3 separate regions of the Homo sapiens genome follow, and all the other regions are linked to region 2. Evidence: promoter capture Hi-C in 16 types of primary human blood cells and fetal thymus (Javierre and others, 2016). All regions are on one chromosome and are shown on one strand. Each heading gives the region's core, a stretch centred on a gene start or on the middle of the fragment in contact. The rest is flanking DNA. Distances are from core to core; before and after follow the strand shown.

The links. The method cuts DNA at HindIII sites, captures the fragments that hold promoters and counts their contacts. A CHiCAGO score of 5 or more calls a contact.
Region 1: a contact is called between a fragment that was not itself captured here and the fragment with the promoter of HSDL2 in region 2, in 1 of 17 cell types (M1 macrophages). The highest score is 5.0, in M1 macrophages.
Region 3: a contact is called between a fragment that was not itself captured here and the fragment with the promoter of HSDL2 in region 2, in 1 of 17 cell types (total B cells). The highest score is 5.5, in total B cells.

What each region holds. Positions count from the first base shown.
Region 1 is chr9:111,817,417-111,820,116 of GRCh38, reverse strand. No RefSeq gene overlaps it. Among named protein-coding and RNA genes, the nearest start is that of SHOC1, 24 kb to the right of the region's middle. The HindIII fragment of the contact is 3,992 bases long and covers 1-2,700 here.
Region 2 is chr9:112,378,785-112,381,484 of GRCh38, reverse strand. HSDL2 (hydroxysteroid dehydrogenase like 2) reads right to left here and starts at 1,377. Exons shown (of 11, transcript NM_032303.5): 1 at 1,305-1,377. The coding sequence starts at 1,321. It also overlaps a transcript of PTBP3 not described here. RefSeq lists a silencer at 1,174-1,423 and enhancers at 1,644-1,763, 1,195-1,794, 1,794-2,043, 2,144-2,193. The HindIII fragment of the contact is 10,070 bases long and covers 1-2,700 here.
Region 3 is chr9:111,771,873-111,774,572 of GRCh38, reverse strand. All of the region lies in intron 5 of SHOC1 (shortage in chiasmata 1), which reads left to right. Among named protein-coding and RNA genes, the nearest start is that of SHOC1, 22 kb to the left of the region's middle. The HindIII fragment of the contact is 4,685 bases long and covers 1-2,700 here.

The DNA.
Region 1 (2,700 bases), core at 125-2,624, 560 kb after region 2:
CTACTAGCTTAGGAGGCCCTTCTTGATCCTTATCATTAACCACTGGAAGATGCTGGTAGGAGGGTTATCCAAACAGTATAAAGATGTTCTCGGGACCAGGCGCGGGGGCTCACGCCTGTAATCCCAGCACTTTGGGAGGCTGAGGCAGCTGTATCACGAGGTCAGGAGCTTGGGACCATCCGGACTAACCCGGTGAACCCCCATCTCTACTAAAAATAGAAAAAATTAGCCGGGTGTGGTGGCGGGCGCCTGTAGTCCCAGCTACTCAGGAGGCTGAGGCAGGAGAATTGCCTGAACCTGGGAGGCAGAGCTTGCAGTGAGCCGAGATCGCGCCACTGAACTCCAGCCTGGGCGACACAGCGAGACTGTCTCAAAAAAAAAAAAAAAAAAAGAGAGATGTTCTCAAAGGCCTAGGTGCCACATGGGACCTGAAGAGCCATGTTTGTTCATTGTTTTAACTGTAGGTACCCCAAAGATCCAGCTTCATAAATACCCATGTTCTGGGGTTGGTCTAGAAGATGACCATCAATATGACTATGTGGTTGTATCAGATGGTGAGTGCAAAGAAGATGCAATAATCTTGAACCAAGAACTCCCTGTTCCACACCAAAGTGCCCCATTATTGCCACAGATTTGAGAAACACCTTAGTTTTAGGTTTAGAAAAGGTATATAACAACACAATGGAAATACATTTCTCAGTCACATTCATGTGTGCAAAATGTAAATGATTTCCTTATAACTCACTTTAGCTCATGGGTTATTTCACTGATAATGGAAAACCTAACTCTGTAATCCAAAGTAATCTCAGTTACTTGCAGTTTAAACTCAATCTTTTTTGGTTAAATAGTCAAATTAGGATTTTCTCCTTTTACTTCCTTCTCTCCCTTCTTGGGGTGTAACATCTAGGTTCTGAATGATCCAAGTCCTCCTGGGTGGTCTATCATCCTGACTTTGGGAAAGAGGAACATGGTTTATGGGCTTCAGCAAACCACCTAGTTGGCTTCTTCTAAGATGAATAATCTGTTTCTTTTGTATTGGTTGCCTATCCCCCCTATAACGGTGCTGAAATGTCTGTGCCCACTTGGCTCATCAGTCCCCAGGACCTCACAAGTCACTCTAAGTCTTCCTCATCCTGACCTCTCCAGGTCCACTGGCCTCACTTTCAGTCATTTTTGTCCTTCTTTAGTTTTTTTTAATTAGATTTTTTAAAACTATGGTAAAATATATATAAGAATTTTCATTTTAATCATTTAAAGTGTACATTTCAGTGGCATTCTTGCTCGTCTTTATATTGTTGAGCCACCATCATCACTATCCATCTCCGCAATACTTTCATCACCCCAAACTGAAGCTCAGTACCTATTAAAGAATAGCTCTGTATTCTCTCCTCCCTCTAGCCCCTGGTAACCACTTTTCTACTTTCTGTCTGTATGAATTTGACCGTTCTAAATATTTCACATAAGTGGAATCCTACAGGATTTGTCCTTTTGCATCTAGCTCATTTCACTTAGCACAATTTTTTTTTTTTTTTTTTTTTTTTGAGCCATAGTCTCACTCTGTCACCCAGGCTGGAGTGCAGTGGCGCGATCTTAGCTCACTGCAATCTCCACCACCTGGGTTCAAGCGATTCTCCTGAATCAGCCTCCAGAGTAGGTGGGACTACAGGCACGTGCCACCATGCCCGGCTAATTTTTTGTATTTTTAGTAGAGACGGGGTTTCACCGTGTTAGCCAGGATGGTCCTGATCTCCTGACCTCGTGATCCACCCGCCTTGGCCTCCAAAAGTGCTGGGATTACAGGTGTGAGCCACCATGCCCAGCTCATTTAGCGTAATGTTTTATAGGTTCATCCATGTTTAGCATGTTTCAGAATTTCACTCCTTTCAAAGGCTGAATACTATTCCATTGTATGGATACATCACATTTTATTTATCCATTTATCTGTTGATAGGCATTTGGATTGTTTCCAGCTGTTGGCTATTGTGAATAAAGCTGCCATGAACATGGATGTACAAATATCTGAGTCCCTGCTTTCAATTCTTTTGGGTAAATATCTAGAAGTGAAATTGCTGGATCATATGATAATTCTATTTTCATTTTATGAGGAGCCGCCATACTGGGAACTTTTGAAGGTTTTTCTGAAACCACCTTTGCAAAAAGTATAACTGAGAAAATTATTACAGTGAAAACGATCTGACCTAACCGACTCCGTCTTGCTTCTAACCTCCAAGGTGTCCTTGTTCATTCCAGGGTGGAGGCCAAACTAACTTTGAGAGGAATTTAGTTTATAGTTTAACTTTGAAACAAAGAAGATAACAGCTCTTTCCCAAAACAAACTCCCTTTCTGACTAGAGATTAGATTGGTTTTGTAGGACTAATAAATTAGCCACAAGATTAGAAATTATGGTTTAGGAGTCCTGTGGCTGGAGGCTGCAAGATTCTGAACCTCTCAAATTTCTCCTGAGAATAACAAGACTATTATAAAACCTAAGATCAGCATTTGAGATATTTTCCAGACCTTGCACTCAGTGGATCAGGTGGCACCAACTAGATCGATAAATTGGCTCATCTGGTCTTGTGGTCCCTACCCAGGAACCGGCTCAGTGCAAAGGAACAGCTTTGACTCCTTATGATTTCACCTCTGACTCGACCAATCAGCACTCTCCGCTTTCCAACCACCTACCCACCAAATTATCCTGA
Region 2 (2,700 bases), core at 128-2,627:
CTACTCGGGAGGCTGAGGCAGGAGAATTGCGGGAGGCGGAGGCTGCAGTGAGCCGAGATCATGCCACTGCACTCCAGACTGGAAGACAGAGCGAGACTCCATCTCAAAAGAAAAAAAAAGGAGGCGGAAGATCTGCCATGTACTAAAAATGTATGTCCCTGGGCACAGCGGTGCATGCCTGTAATCCTAAATACTCCAGAGGCTAAGAAGGGAGGAACATCAGCCTGGGAGTTCAAGGCTACAGGCCAGTCTGGGCAACATGGGAGACCCCGTCTTTAAAAAAAACAAAGAAAGAATGTCCCAAGACATACCAACTAAAAGTAGCAAGACCAAGAATAGAGTCTGCTGCTATTTTTAAGAAAGGGTATGTGTGTGTGTGTGTGTGTGTGTGTGTGTATCCGGATGTATACAAATTATGTTCATACATGCACGAAATAGAAACGTAAGTAACTGGGGAACTAGATTTTAGGGATGGGGAGACTCACTTTTTACCCTATACTCTTTGAACTGTTTTAAGTCTTTGGCTATATGCCTGCATGTTTCAGGCAAATTACAAAATCTGACAACACGTCACTCAACTCAAGATACCCAGACCTTACATAAACCAGAAAGTAGAATGGTGGTTGCCAATGTACGAGCGGAGGTGGGGAAGAGGAGTTGTTTCATGGATAGAGTTTCAGCTTGCAGATGAAAAAAGTTCTGGAGATTGACTGCACAACGATATGAATCTACTTAACACTACTGAAGTGTACACTTAAAAAACGGTTAAGATGGCAGATTTTGTACGTATTTTAACACAATTTTTTAAGGTGAAAAAAAAATCCCCCAAAGATACCCATGTTTTAAGATCGGTTTAGTTTCTAATTTGGAAATCATTTTTTAAACACTCCATTATTACTCTAGAATTGAGCGTCAGGAACAAGTGAAAACTCTTTAAACTCTGGAGCTGCTCCTGCGACCTTTCACCTAGAACTCACACGCATTCGGCCAGGCACGCACTCCTGCTAAACTCAGGGAGGGCCGGCACTGGGGGCGGCGTGGTGACTCCCCCTCGGCCCTTTACCCGTGGAAAAGGTTTCTACACTGCTGCCATCCTGTAATACAAAAGTTTGTGTTCCTTTTCACACGTTACCGCAGATTCTCGGTGCACAGTGCCCAGCGCGGACCAGAGCTCAGAGCGTGCCCAGGCAGTATCCTTGACCTCCCACAGCCGGGCCGGCCAGCCCGGGCGATCCGCGGCGGCCCCACCGAGACGCGCCCTTCGCCCGACAGGGTCTCTCCCCGCGCCGCCCCTACCCCCTTACCCGGTGTTGGGTAACATGACTTTCGTAGATCAGAGGAGGTGGCGGCGACAGCGGCGGCGGCGAGCAGAGAGCTAAAGCTGGACCGTCCCTCCGCATTTATCCCCGCCCCTGCCCCGCCCCTGCCCCCCCCGATGCCTGTGCGGGAACTGCGCGCGGAAAAGCCGGGATCGCCGAGTGCGCCTGCGTATGCAGTGGGCCTCCTGCGCCCAGCGTTCCTCTTCGTCGCCTCCCAAGCCTGGTCCCTGATTGCAGGCTCTCCGCGCAGGCGCTTTGAGGCACAGCTCCGCCCCGCCCCCTCACTGGTCGTACGGTGACAATCAGGCTCCTGTCGGCGCCTAGCGTCTGGGCAGCGTCAGCCGCTACGTCCACCTTTTCCCTGTCTCTAGGGGTTTCTCCTCGCGCCGCTGTGTTCCAGCGCCGGCTCCGAGCTGGGAGGGTGACTGAGCCCTGAGCTTGGGCCCTCCGAGAGGTGCGTTAGCTCTGGGTCTTCTTGCCCCTACGCCCGAGCCTGGCGTTCTCTCGGCCCCCTCTTAGGAACGCTAGCCCTGGGCAGAAATTGCCTTTGTGGCTGAAGTCGGCCAGCGTCGCGTTTCCACTCTCCCGCCGAATCTGGACCCAAGCCAGCCTTCCCTTGTGCATCGGTAGATAGCTTGTGTTAAGGCGCCAGCTTCTTGGAACAGAGCTCTCTGCAAAAGTCGCGCTGAAGAATTCATAGTCAAAAGCTGAACTTGCAGAAGTTTCTACTTCTGGAATGAGTGTTGAAATGAGATCAATTCTGACATTCAGTTTCGCTTTTGGGATTATGCCTTGGACTAACTCAGCTACTCTGATGAGCTAAAGACTGTAGTATATTTGAAGGAAGACACGAGGAACTGTTTTGTATTTTGTAGGGATAGAACAGGACCTTGAGGAGATTATTATATGAAGACTAGTTAAAGAAACTAGCCTGGAGATGGCTTATGTACTCTCTCCTTTGTTTTTGTTTTGTTTTTTGAGACGGAGTCTCGCTGTCGCCCACGCTGAAGTGCAGTGGCGCGGATCTCGGCTCATTGTAACCTCCGCCTCCCGGGTTCAAGTGATTCTCCTCCCTCAGCCTCCGGAGTAGCTGGGACTACAGGCATGCATCACCACGCCTGGCTAATTTTTTTGTGTTTTTAGTAGAGACGGGGTTTCGCCATGTTGGGCTGGCTGGTCTCGAGCTCCTGACCTCAAATGATTGGCCCGCCTCGGCCTTCCAAAGTGCTGGGATTACAGGCGTGAGCCTCCGCGCCCGGCCTCTCTCCCCTTTGTTATGGGCCCTAAATGACTCTATTTCCTCCTGCATATCACCTGCCCGACTCCTGTAGGCATTTGAATTGATGATTCATGATACGGTCTTTAGAGGCTCCAGAGGAAT
Region 3 (2,700 bases), core at 4-2,503, 610 kb after region 2:
TTCAGTCCAAGTCTACTCGTAAAAAGTGGAACATCACTTGAGGCCAGGAGTTTGAGACCAGCCTGGGCAACATGGCAAGACCCTGTCTCCACAAAAAGATTGTTAAAAATTAGCCAGGTGTGGTGGCAGTTCTGTAGTCCTAGCTATTTGTAAGGCTGAAGTGGGAAGATTGCTTGAACCCAGGTGTTCAAGGCTGTAGTAAGCCATGATCGTGCCACTGCACTCCAGCTTGGGTGACAGAGTGAGACCCTGTCTGGAGAAAAAGTGGTTTTGAGATTTGGGAGAAAATTTTTAAGATTTTTAAATTTTGTTCTATAATTTATTTCTATTATATATTCTTCTATTTTTTAATAATTTTTTGTGGGGATAAACTAATATATGTAAGTTTATATAAGTATATTTAAAGAGATGGCTTATAAAAACTAATGGGTTACACAAACATAGTAGTATAAATGTGGCAAACTAGAAGCTACTGTCGGCTAGAATCAACTATTGACTGAGAGAAAATATGCTTGAATTTCCCAAATGCATACACATTGTCCATATCCTATATTTCCTCAGGTGTCCTGTGTCACCGGACATCACTTTATAAATTTAGATTTTTAATTTTATTTATTTTCTTTGCAATTATATTGATTGCTGCCAGATTTGTAGATAATTTGGTCTTATTGTCTAAATCAAAAGGAACATAGTATATTTGGGGATTTGTAAATATGCTATGTCTTATAAGAATTATAAATAATTACTAAATTATAATTTCAAAACACATATATCTTTAAAACATAAAACAGTGGCTGGTTTTCTTTTATGGTTGTTGGTTTATTGATATTTGCTAATTTTTCTACAATGTTCACATATTATTTGTTAATACATGAAACTCTTAAGCATCTCTCTAGGTATCCTGGGAACATATAAACAAATATAAATGTAGCTTTTATTTTTATTTTAAAAAATAAAGTTAGGCCAGCCACAGTAGCTCATGCCTGTAATTCCATCACTTTGGGAGACTGAGGCGGGTGGATCACCTGGGGTCAGGCGTTCGAAACCAGCCTGGCCAACGTGGTGAAACCCTGTCTCTACCAAAAATACAAAATTAGCTGGGCGTAGTGGCAGGCACCTGTAATCTCAGCTATTTGGGAGGCTGAGGCAGGAGAATCACTTGAACCTGGGAGGCAGAGGTTGCCATGAGCCGAGATCACACCATTGCCCTCCAGCCTAGGCAACAAGAGTGAAACTCCATCTCAAAAAATAATAAATAAAAATAAAATAAAATAAATAAAGTTGCATATGCATATAGTTTAGAGAGTCAAATAGTTTGTTAAAGTTTACAATAAAAAGCAGTAATCTGACTTATCGTTTTAAAATGGTGGCACAGAAGCAAGCTGGCTTCACTGCTCATATGGGAAACCAAAAACAAATATACAATGCCAAAATTTTCACTAGCAACAACTCACATCTCAAATATGAGGATGAGACAGATCCTAGGGACACAGAGAAGTGAAAAAACTTCAAGCAGACGGTAGGAGAATCCAACTTCCATATCCATGATGCCCCACCCTGCCCATTCTGCCTGACAACAACCACATGGAAAATCTTCCCCAAACTCATGGTTTCTATGCTGGAAAAAGTGAGAGTGGCATAGTCAACTAGCTTTCCCTCCATCTTGGATTCCCTGGCAGGAGACTTCTTTATTTAACCTGTGGAAAGCATCATGACTGCCTGAAAGGAGAGACAAAGAGGGGAGAAGGGACTACCTTCCCCAGCCCTGGAAACTCTGCTCGGTAACTCAGGCAAAGGAGCCAAATCACAATAGCTAATTTGTGCCACAGGTCCCTTGGGCACGAACCTCTAGCCAGACTTCTGTCACTGTTGGGATAATCATTTTCAGACTCTCCCATTTGGGGCAGACAGTGCCCTGACCATTTGCTAGAGGCAAGGCAAACCTGGGCTTAAGATATCACCTATAGCCAAGAAAAAGGCAATAGTAGTGAAGATTTGCTAAGAAAATATATCCAATAAAAACCAAGACAAGTTGAATAGAGGAAGCTGGAATAAATAACCAATCCTTCAATGCAAAGACATAGACATATACCCACAAGAAACAACACTGAATAGGGAAATGTGACCTCTGCAAAAGGACAAAGGAAAAATCCAGTGACCGACCCTAACAAGACAGTCATTTGTGAGCTCTCTGACCAAAAATTCAAAAGAGCAGTTTCAAGGAAATTCAGTGATCTCTAAAATAATACAGAAAAGCAATTCAGAAAATTGCTGGAGAAATTTAACAAAGAGAATTTGTTAAATTTTTAAAGTTAACTTTAAAAACTCAAACAAATTTTGGAACTGAGAAATACGTTTGCTGAGCTGAACAACTAATTAGAGGCTCTCAACATCCAAATGGAACAACCAGAGGGAAGAATCAGTGAGCTCAAAGACCAGCTATTTGAAAATACAGTCAGAGGAGAAAAAAGAAAAAAGAAAGAAAAAGAACAAAAACTGCCTACAAGATATAGAAAATTACCTCAAAAACCAAATCTAAGAATTCTTGATGTTCAAAAGGGAGCTGAGCAAAGGCAGAGGGCAGAAAGAAAAAATACAAAATTTTCCAGAGCTTGAGAAAGATATAAATCTCCAGTACGGGAAGGTCTGATAATACCCAAGAGATTCAACCCAAATAAGACTACCCCAAGGTATGTAATA